2 separate regions of the Homo sapiens genome follow, and region 1 is linked to region 2. Evidence: promoter capture Hi-C in human tissues and cell types (Jung and others, 2019). All regions are on one chromosome and are shown on one strand. The core of a region is centred on a gene start or on the middle of the fragment in contact, and the rest is flanking DNA. Distances in the headings are between cores, read along the strand shown. Region 1 has its middle 48 kb from the start of FOXI2. Region 2 holds the start of FOXI2 (forkhead box I2).

Region 1 (5,975 bases), core at 2,896-5,395, 49 kb after region 2:
TATATGTGTTTTCTAAACCTAGAAAGTGTGTTCTCTGCAAAGAGCAAAATATTAACTGTACTATAATAGCTTCTATAAAGTGAGAAACTTAACCAGGATCTCAATAGTGCCATATAAGTTATAGTTATGAAAAGTCAGACATGGAACCCCCTTGGAGTGGAGCGTGTGGAGATTCCTCAGGCCCTACTGCTGTCTGCCTGTCTCACTGCTGTCACGTAACCTTACCCTTCTTCATGCTGGTGGGCTGGGCTCCACAGCATGGAGCCACACATCACCCTGGCTGGACAGGTATGAAAGACCCTCTGAAAGTCACTAATAACAAAGAGGAATACGATGACCTTAACCACGCTGGGAAGCCAAAATCACAGCTCTGCACTTTCCAGAAATGATTCATTCTCAAACCTCATCCTTGCAGCTTCCTGCTCATTTTAAAGTAACCCACAAGAAAACTGTGAGGAGCCTGAGCTATTTCACACTTGCCAAATTTCCCTCCCCTTTGATGCTGAAAACAGAAGATATTTGGGAAGTTTTGTTTTCATACCTTGAAATTTTTTGCTGATTATTTACCATGTAAATGCAACTGAAAATACAATCATTCTTAACTACCAAATGTCATTTTGATTCAGTTATGCGGAGTCAGGACCTTTTACATATTCTGAGACAAAAATTTCTTTTTTTCCTATTTGGATGCCCTCTATTTCTTTCTCTTGCTTGATTGCCCTGACCATAACTTCCAATACTATGTTGACTAGGAGAGGTGAGAGAGGGCATCCTTGTCTTATGTTAGTTTTCAAGGGGAATGCTTCCAGCCTTTGCCCATTCAGTATGATGTTGGCTGTGGGTTTGTCATAGATGGCACTTATTATTTTGAGGCATGTTCCTTTGATACATAGTTTATTGAGAGTTTTTAACATGAATGGATGATGAATTTTATCAAAAGCCTTTCTGCGTCTATTGAGATCATCATGTGGTTTTAGTCTTTTGTTCTGTTTATGTGATGAATGACATTTATTGATTTATGTATGTTGAACCAAGCTTGCATCCTGGGGATGAAGCTTACTTAATTGTGGTGGGTAAGCTCTTCAATGTACTGCTGGATTTGGTTTGCCAGTGTTTTGTTGAGGATTTTTGCATCAATATTCATCAAGGATATGGCCTGAAGTTTTCTTTTTTTGTTGTATCTCTGTCATGTTTTGGTATCAGGATGGTGCTGGCCTTATAGAATGAGTTAAACTATCCCTGTTTGCAGATGACAGGATCCTATATCTACGAAACCCCGTAGTCTCAGCCCAAAAGCTTCTTAAGCTGATAAACAACTTCAGCCAAGTCTCAGAATACAAAATCAATGTGCAAACATCACTAGCATTCCTATACAACAACAACGATCAAGCCGAGAACCTTATCAGGAATGAACTCCCGTTCACAATTGCCACAGAAACAATAAAATCCTTAGGAATACAGCTCAGCAGCAGGGTGAAAGATCTCTACAAGGAGAACTACAAACCACTGCTCAAAGAAATAAGAGATGACACAAACAAATGGAAAAACATTCCATGCTCATGGATAGGAACAATCAATATTGCGAAAATGTCCATACTGCCCAAAGCAACTTGTAGATTCAATGCTATTCCTATTAGACTACTATTGACATTCTTCACAGAATTTGAGAAAACTATTTTAAAATTCATATGGAACCAAAAATAAGCCCAAATAGCCAAGACAATCCTAAGCAAAAAGAACAAAGCTGGAGACATCATGCTACCCGACTGCAAACTCTACTACAGAGCTACAGTAGCCAAAACAGTATGGTACTGGTACCAGAACAGATACATAGACCAATGGAACAGAATAGAGAACCCAGGAATAAGACTTCACACCTACAACTATCTGATCTTAGATAAACCTGACAAAAGCAAGCAATGGGGAACGGATTCCCTATTCAATAAATGGTGCTGGCATAAATGGCTAGCCATATGCAGAAGATTGAAACTGGACCCCCTCCTTACACCATATACAAGAATCAACTCAAGATGGATTAAAGACTTAAATGTAAAACCCAAAGCTATAAAAACCCTGGGAGACAACCTAGGCAATACTATTCAGGATGTAGGCACAGGCAAATATTTCATGACAAAGATGCCAAAAGCAATTTCAACAAAAGCAAAAATTGGCAAATGGGATCTAATTAAAGTAAAAAGAAGCTAAAGAAAAGAAATTATCAACAAAGTAAACAGCCTACTGATTGGGAGAAAATTTTTGCAAACTATGCATCCAACTAGGTTTAATATCCAGTAGCTATAAGAAACTTAAACAAATTTATAAGAAAATAAACACAACCCAATTAAAAGTGGGCAAAGGACATGAACAGACACTTTTCAAAAGAAGACATACATGTGGCCAGCACTCACATGAAAAAAAGCTCAACATCACTGATCATTAGTGAAATGCAAATCAAAACCACAATGAGATACCATCTAACACCAGTCATAATGGCTAATACTAAAAAGTCAAAAAAATAACAGATACTGGCAAGGTTGTAGAGAAAAAGGAACACTCATACACTGTTGGTGGGAGTGTAAATTAGTTCAGCCATTGTGGAAGACAGTGTGGCAATTCCTCAAAGATCTAAAGACAAAAATACCATTCAACCCAGCAATCTCATTACTGGGTATATACTCAGAGGAATATAAATCATTATGTTATAAAGACACATGCATGCATGTGTTCATTGCATCTATTTTCATATTAGCAAAGGCATGGAATCAACCTTAAAGTCCAGCAGTGATAGGCTGGATTTTTAAAATGTGGTACATATACACCATGGAATACTATGCAGCCATAAAAAAGAGGTGAGATCATGTTCTTTGCAGGGACATGGAGGTAGCTGGGGGCTATTGTCCTTAGCAAACTAACACAGGAACAGAAAACCAAGTATCATGTGTTCTCACTTACAAGCGGGAGCTGAATGATGAAAACACATGGACACATAAAGGTAAACAACACACACTGGGGCTCTTCAGAAGGTGGAGGGTGGGAGGAGGTTGGGAGGAGAGAATTAGGAATAATAAATAGTGGGTACTAAGCTTAATACCTGGGTAATAAAATAACTTGTACAAAAAAATCCCATGATAAAAGCTTACCTACGTTACAAACCTGTACATATACCCCTGAACTTAAAATAAAAGGTAAAAAGAAAATAAAATACAGTAGAGCCATAATTTTTTTTTTCTTTGAGAGAGAGTTTCACTCCGTCACCCAGGCTGGAGTACAGTGGTGCAATCACAGCTCACTGCAGCCTTGCCAGGGCTCAGGTGATCCTCTCACCCCAGCCTCCCAAGTAGCTGAGACTACAGGCGCAGGCCACCATGCTGAACTATTTTTTGTAGAGACAGGGTTTCACTATGTTGCTCAGGCTGGTCTTCAACTCCTGGGCTCAAGAGATCCACCCAGCTCGGCTCTCCCAAAGTGCTGCGATTACAGGTGTGAGCCACTGCACCCGGCCGAGGCAAAAATTTCTAATGATTATTCTATATTTTTTTATGTTGGTGAAACAGGATCAGAAATGTAAATGTAAAAAAAAATGAAACCTTTTAAGTACTAGAAGAAACTGTGAGTGAATCTGTCTTTAATATGGGAGTGGAGAAAAGTCAAAACCCAAAAACAGTAAGAGAAAGGATTGACAGGCCAGGTGCAGTGGCTCACGCCTGTAATCCCAGCACTTGGGAGTGCCGAGGTGGTTGGATCTCTTGAGCCCAGAAGTTCAAGACCAGCCTGAGCAATATAGTGAAACCCTGTCTCTACAAAAAATAGCTCAGCATGGTGGTCTGTGCCTGTAGTCCCCGCTACTTGGGAGGCTGAGGTGGGAGGATCACCTGAGCCCTGGCAAGGCTGCGGTGAGCTGTGATTGCACCACTGTACTTCAGCCTCTAGTAAAAATACAAAAAAATTAGCTGGGTGTGGTGGCACACGTCTATAGTCCCAGCTGGGACAGGAGGCTGAGACAGGAGGCTGAGGCAGGAGAATCATTTGAACCTGGGAGGTGGCGGTTACAGTGAGCTGAGACCAGGATATTGCACTCCAATCTGGGCGACAGAGTGAGACTCTGTCTCAAAAAAAAAAAAAAAGAAAAAAAGAAAAAGGATTGATAGATTTGATCTCACATATACACAATTTCTTTTCATAGCAAAATGTAGTTATATTGTCTTGATGTACAAAATGTTCCTCTTTGTAGTAATATGTCCAGCCTTTAAATCTATTTTGTATGGTATCAATGTAGCAACTCCCGTTCAAAGTCTTCATAGGGTATCCTTAACCAGGCTGTAACTTTCAGTCGATTTGTTTTTATATTCAAAGTAAATATCTTGTAATAGTATATATTAATAGTTCTTGAATTTCTATACTGTCTTTTGAAAAGTATCTAGTTCATTTCAATTATTAATATTATTGTATTTAAGATTGCTATTTTACTATTTTTAGAGTTTGTCTTATTTGTTTATTTTTCATCTCTTCTTCATGCCCTGCCTTGAGAGAGAGAGAGATTGTGTGTGTGTGTGTGTGTGTGTGTGTGTGTGTGTGTGTCTGTGAGAGAGAGAGAAATATATAGAGAGAAATATTTCAATATTTCATTTTAATTCCTTTAGTGGCTTTGTAGCTACCTCTTTGCATTACTTTTTAGTGGTTGCTCTAAGAGTTACAATATACATCTTAAATTTTCATCAAACTACTTAAAGTTAATATTGAATTATTGCAAGTAAAATACAGGAAACTCAAAACTATATATTTCTGTGTATCCCCACACACCTTCTTTGTGATATTATTGCCTTATAGATTTCATCTATAGGTGTTACAAATCCATCAATACAGTGCCATCATATTTGCTTTACAAAGTCACAGATCTTTCAAGAAAATTAAGAGACAATGTATATATTAATAATGTCTTTCATGTAGCCACATACTCAACATTTCTGGTACTCTTCATGCCTCTGGTAAATCAGCGTTATTTGTGCTGTTTTCCTTCAGCCTGAAGAATTTGCCTTACCAATTTGTTGTTGTTGTACGTGTCTGCTTCTACCAATTTCTCTCAGTTTTTTGTTTATCTGAACATGTTTTTATCTTACCTTTATTTTTGACAGATGATTCCACTGGACATCAAATTTTTAATTGAGAGAGTTTTATTTGTTTGTTTGGTTTGGTTTGGTTTTATTCAGCACTTTGAATATTTTTTTCCAATGTCTTCTAGTTCCCAAGGTTTTGAAAAGAAGTCAGCCCTTAATCTTGTCACTGCCCCTCTATCTGTGATATGTTTCTTTGTTTCTTAACGCTTTCAATATTGTTCCTCTGTCTTTTTGGCTTTCAGCATTTGACTATGTATGTTTAGAAACAACTTTTTGGTGTTTGTACTGCAAGAGGTTTGTTGAGATCCTTGAATCTATAAAATAATGATTTCCACCAAATTTATTTTATCAAATAGATACTTTTTCTGTTTTCTCTCTTTTCTTTCCTGAGATTCCCATACACGTATGTTGGGCCGCCTCATATTGTCCATAGGTCTCTGAAGTTTCGTTCATTAATCTTCAATACTTGTTCTCTCTTTTTGTCACATTTTTATTTTTATTTTTTATTAGTAATTTTTATTAATCCATCGTCAAGTTTATTTATTCTTCTGCTCTTTATAAAGTGCTGTTGCACCCAACTAGCAAATTTTTATTTCATTATTGAACTCTTTGCTCCAAGACTTTTTATTGTTTGCTTTCCTCTATTGAGTTTGTCTATCCATTCATTACTAGCATATTTTCTCCAATTATTTAAATGTATTTTATTTTAATTCTCTGAATATATATATCATAGCATCTATGAATTCAACAAACAGCTCCAACAATAAGGAAAGAAGTCAATTTCTGTTGACTTCTTTTCTTCCTATGTGTCATACTTTCCTATTTCTTTACATGTCTAGTGATTTTTGGTTTAAAACTAGA
Region 2 (5,512 bases), core at 61-2,560:
CAAATGGGCCCTTTAATCCCCAAACCCAAACTCTTTCCTCGATCGAACCGCTGGCCTCAACCTACAAGCCTCCTCCACCGCCAAAAGTCGGGAAGGGTTGGTCCTTTTGTTTTACAAATGAATTAAAATTAGATCCACAGGCCCGCGTAACGCTGGGGAATACCCAGGGCGAGGCCAGCTTCCAGGAGGTCAGCGCCAACACCGCCGGCAGGAATCTGGGGGGATGGGGAGGTCTCCTCATCTCTGAGCCTTGAGCACCAGGCCTGAATTTTCGCCTCTTTCGCACAGGTGCCCGACTCGGAGTCCGGGAGGCGGGCCCTCTTTCCAGGTACCCAGCCCAGCGTCAGCCTGGGTCCATCCTCCGCCACCCCACAGCGCGGGGAGCAGGGGAGGCCGAAAGCCGGGCAGCTTGGGGGGCCGGGATAACCCGGGCTGCAGCAACCCCGGGCGGCAGCAGGACTGGAGAGCTGGTGTCGGACGCACTGCAGAGACGTCCCTGTTTTCGGCGCGTCCTCCGACACCCAGCAGAGAGCTTGGCGCTCTCCGCTCTGCGCGCCCGAGGTCACAGCGCGGAGAAACCTGGCGGGGCCCCGGACTCCCCGGCTTGGGAAAAGCGATGACTGCCCTGAACTGCTGGGGCGTTCGAAATTTCCAGGGTCCCGACCCTCCGTGGGGTACGCGCGACTTCGGCGCAGATGTCAGTCCGCTGCCTTCCGGGTTGAGGGAGCGAGGACTCCAGACGACCCCAGGGCCGCTGTCCAGGCCCAGCCCCGCGTTCTCCACCTCGCCACCTCGCTCTGCGGCTCCAGCCTGGAGATCTACGGACTTCATTGCGATCTCTTGCGCAGTGTAGTCGCCCTCTATCCCTAGCCCCGAGTCCCGGGTAACCCAGGGGCCCCGGCGAGGCGAGTTTCTTTGGGGCGAGATGTCCCGAGCCGAGCAAAGGGGCCGCGCATTGGACGGGGCTCCCAAGCCACAGCCCTGGGGGCCTTGAGGAGTCGTGGTACGGTCCAGGGCAGTCGGGGCTGCGGGGCCCGTGAAGCCAGACGAGGCTACGGACTTAGGGTCCCTGCAACCAAGACCGCGAGCGACTGTGGACTCGGGACGGATCGCACAAAGGAGGAAGGGGGAATCAGAGGGGCGTCCGGTCCAGGACGTGTCAGGCCTGGGCGGGGCGGAAAACTGACACCAGGGCGAGGACAAGGATTTCGCTCCTCCAGGGCTGCCAGGGGAGGGGCTCGCCACCGTCACTCTCCATGGGCTCTGGCCCCGACGGTGTTTAAAGGGCGGAGGGCTGGGCCGGGCTGGTCGCACCCGGGCGCTGCTGGCGGCCAAGCTGGATGGGTCGCCAGTGAGTTTCGGTGCGGCACCGCTGGCCCAGGCCCGGGCGCGGCTGGACATGGCCACCTACTGCGACGACCTGGGCCCCTCCTCGGCCCCGCCCGGCCAGGCCCAGGCCACCGCGCACCCCCCGGGCTATGAGCCAGGGGATCTGGGCGCGGTGGGCGGGGGCCCCCTCCTGTGGGTGAACGCGCCAGCGCTCAGCCCCAAGTCCTACGCTTCGGGTCCCGGGCCTGCGCCGCCCTACGCGGCCCCGAGCTACGGGGCTCCCGGCCCGCTCCTCGGCGCCCCGGGCGGCCTGGCGGGCGCCGACCTCGCCTGGCTGAGCCTCTCCGGCCAGCAGGAGCTGCTGAGGCTGGTGCGGCCGCCCTACTCCTACTCGGCGCTCATCGCCATGGCCATCCAGAGCGCGCCGCTGCGGAAGCTGACGCTCAGCCAGATCTACCAGTACGTGGCTGGTAACTTCCCTTTCTACAAGCGCAGCAAGGCGGGCTGGCAGAACTCCATCCGCCACAACCTGTCGCTCAACGACTGCTTCAAGAAGGTGCCCCGCGACGAGGACGACCCAGGTAACAGCGGCGCGCCGGCTCGCTCCGTCCAGGACTCCCCATCTTCCCGCCGGGCCGCGGGCACTCCGGGGGTGGGAGCACCTTAGACAACCTAATTTCTCCCTGCGCGGTTGGGGATACCCGGGGAGGAGGGAGAAGGGGAAGAAGTGCTTGGGCATGGACAGGTTCTCAGACAGCGGCTGAGCCCACCACAGGCCCGCGTTTACAGTGCGGCGGTCCCGGGGCTCTCAATCTCTGTGCGCTCCTTCGGAGGAAGAAGCGGGAGAGCCAGCAAGCTGGGTGACCTTGGGAGTGACTCAACTTCCCTGGGCCTCAGTGCCCTACCTGGTAAAATGGGGAAGACAGCGCCTACCCCAAGGATGGGCAAAACAAATAGGATGCCCGTTTGGAAAGCTCTGGAGCCTACCTGGGGGCCTGGCGTGGTCTGCGCTGTCCTTGGCAGAGCGGCTGGCGGAGTCCCACCATTAGCATCTCGCAGGCCTTCCTTCACCTTAACGGGGCTCGGCCTTTCCCAGGGCTCCCTTCCTCCTCCTTTCTGGATTGTCACTTTCTTCCCAGTCCTGCTGTGGAGGCCCATCGGGTACAGAGTGCCCGTCAAGGGTGGAATGGGGGCGAGGACTCAGACCCTCTGTAAGGGCCAGCAGGGGATCTTTCTGAAGCTGACCTCCTCGCTGGCTCACACCACGGCCCGTCAAAGCTCGAACCTTCTGAACTGGGCTGTTTCTTCTTCTGCAGGTAAAGGCAATTACTGGACCCTGGACCCCAACTGCGAGAAGATGTTTGACAACGGGAACTTCCGAAGGAAGAGGAAGAGGAGAGCTGAAGCCAGCGCGGCCGTGCGCTCGGGAGCCAGGAGCGTGGGAGGGGCCGAGGCGCCAGCGCTGGAGCCCCCGAGCGCGGCTTGCCTGGACCTGCAGGCCTCGCCCTCTCCATCCGCACCCGAGGCCGCCACCTGCTTCTCCGGTTTCGCTTCTGCTATGAGCGCTCTGGCTGGCGGCCTTGGCACCTTCCCCGGGGGCCTGGCGGGCGACTTTTCTTTCGGGAGGCGGCCACCGACAGTCGCCACCCACGCTCCCCAGACCCTTAACCCCTCCCCTGGCTTCGCCCCTGGCCACCAGACCGCGGCCGCCGGCTTCCGCCTCAGTCACCTCCTCTACAGCCGGGAAGGGACCGAAGTTTGAAGGGAGGCTGGAGGCTAGCCGGGTGCGGGTCCAGAGGTGCTGAGCTCAGGCCTCCGGTTTCCCCTGGTGACAGCCCCACGTGTTGGCGTTGAAGGCCTTGGTGCCCTGGGAGGAAGCGCAGAGCCGGGGGCGGCTCGGCCAGCAGGGAGCTGGGCTGAGCGGCTCTTGGGCTTTGGGGTGGGTGGCCCTTCTGCTGTGCACCCCTCACCCAGGCGACCTTCGGAACCTCCCTGCTCTGCCTCTAAGTCCAGCCGCCCTGGGCGTCTAGAACCTGTGCTCTCGAGGGATTTGCCTTGAAGGGGCGGCGGGTCGGCCCTCAGCTCCAGCGTTTTCCAAGGAGGCTGGCTGACTCCAAAGAGCCTTAGAGCAGATGGGAAGAAGGTGGGCTGCCAGAGCGGCCCAGGTGGTGGGGGCCCTTTCCACCTCCACCCAGCTTGGCCCACCTGGCTCAGGGCCTTCCCTTCTGCTTCAGGGAAGCTGCCGCAGGGGCTGGGGGACAGAGCTCAGGAGCAGCTGCAGTGGGCTCCAGGTGGGCCAGGAGCCTGCAGTGAGGGGATCTGAGACAGTTGGCATTGGGTCCTGTGTAAGGAAGGTCTTGCTAATGGTTGGAACTGCTGGTGGTGGGAGGGAGAAGCACTGCGTGGGCAGAAAGCGCCCTTGGGATACCAGCTCCCTTCCCTGTCACTCAGCCCTGGTCCTTGATGACCCCCCTCTAGGACAAGGCAACTCCCCAGGGCCCCGCCACCACTGACCACAGGAGCGGTGCCCAGCACCCAGGAGTTCCCCAAGGGTCCAGGTTTGTGCCACCCACACCCACACTCACACCCACACTCACACCCACACTCACACCCACACCCACACCCACACCCACACTCACACTCACACTCACACCCACACTCACACCCACACTCACACCCACACCCACACCCACACTCACACACACTCACACCCACACCCACACTCACACCCACACACACTCACACCCACACACACCCACACTCATACTCACACTCACACCCACACTCACACCACACCCACACTCACACTGACACCCACACTCACACCCACACTCACACTGACACCCACACTCACACCCACACTCATACTCACACTCACACCCACACTCACACTCACACCCACACTCACACCACACTCACACCCACACACACCCACACTCATACTCACACCCACACCCACACTCATACTCACACACCCACACCCACACCCACACCCACACCCACACCCACACCCACACTCACACAGGCTCATGGAAGGCCACACTTGTTTTGGTCTCTTTCCCCTCCAAACCCACAGTTTGAGCCAAAGCTGTGCGTGTGTTCAGAGCTCCTGAACAGCAGCCTCCTGTGTAAATTGAACCCTGCCCCACCCAGTTCCTTCTTAGGGATGGTATCTTTGTGAAGGACAAGGAGCCCCCAGTCACTGGGAAGAGGAATTTTTTGGCCTCTGTACTCCTTAGAGGACCTAAGTGCCCCAGTCAGATGCCCTGAGTCTTTGTGGCATCTGGGACTCCCTGGAGATGGAGACGTTGGTGGGGGGGGGGTACCCACCTTGTTGTTGATGGGGGTACCTATCTTCCCTGCATTTTGGGGGAGGGTGGGAGGGGTCCTTCCCAGGAAGAGAGTGGAGACAGGTTACTGTTACTTTGGAGTGGGACAGGCTGGTTTAGCAATCCTAAGCCCCAGCCACGCAGGTATTCCTGATCTGCCTGCAGGGCCCCTCACTGCAGCTGCCACCAGTGCTGGAAATGAGAGCAGGGCTCCTGACTGTCCCTAGAGCTGACTCATCATGGCCCTGCTGAAGAGTGAGGTGTGTGTGTGTGTGTGCGTGTGTGCGTAAGACAGAGAGGGAGGGAGAAGGAAGGAGGCGGGGGAACATGGAGAGAAGGAGCCAGGAGTTGGGATAAACCTGGCCCTGGTCATATGTTTCATCAGCAGTGGCTCCTAACTCCACGTGCCATCTCTGCTGCTGCCCTCCACAAGCAGGTGAGCAGAGTGCCAGTTGTGTTGAAGGTGATGATGTCGCCTAACTAAACTCACAACCAACCCGCAATCTCTCTTGGGGGGACACTCCCCATAAGCAATACAATTAAAGAAGACCAGGAAAGGAAAATAAATTCCTTAGCTTATACATTTAAAAAGTATCCCTTGAACCTATTTTAATAGAATGAAATGCTAAAAATAAAGACCAATATAACATACATAGCTGGCATGTGTATGCTATTTCGTATAAGAATTCCACTGCTATGACAAACATCCCCATTTTAGAGTCTGAACTTGCAGGAAACTTGGAAAGATCTTTTCCTAATTAAATTTGACAACAGTTGGAAAATGCAATGGACAATTGGACAATCAGTGGAGCTTTGAGAAAATTGGCTGACACGTGTGGATGTAAACATGGAAT

What was found. Contacts are between HindIII fragments. The study calls those that stand out against the background at their distance.
Region 1: a contact is called between a fragment that was not itself captured here and the fragment with the promoter of FOXI2 in region 2, in 2 of the 25 tissues and cell types used here (hippocampus and pancreas).

What each region holds. Positions count from the first base shown.
Region 1 is chr10:127,781,927-127,787,901 of GRCh38, forward strand. No RefSeq gene overlaps it. Among named protein-coding and RNA genes, the nearest start is that of FOXI2, 48 kb to the left of the region's middle. The HindIII fragment of the contact is 6,201 bases long and covers 1,046-5,975 here.
Region 2 is chr10:127,735,875-127,741,386 of GRCh38, forward strand. FOXI2 (forkhead box I2) reads left to right here and starts at 1,311. Exons shown (of 2, transcript NM_207426.3): 1 at 1,311-1,910; 2 at 2,646-5,309. The coding sequence starts at 1,400. The coding sequence ends at 3,091. The HindIII fragment of the contact is 23,826 bases long and covers 1-5,512 here.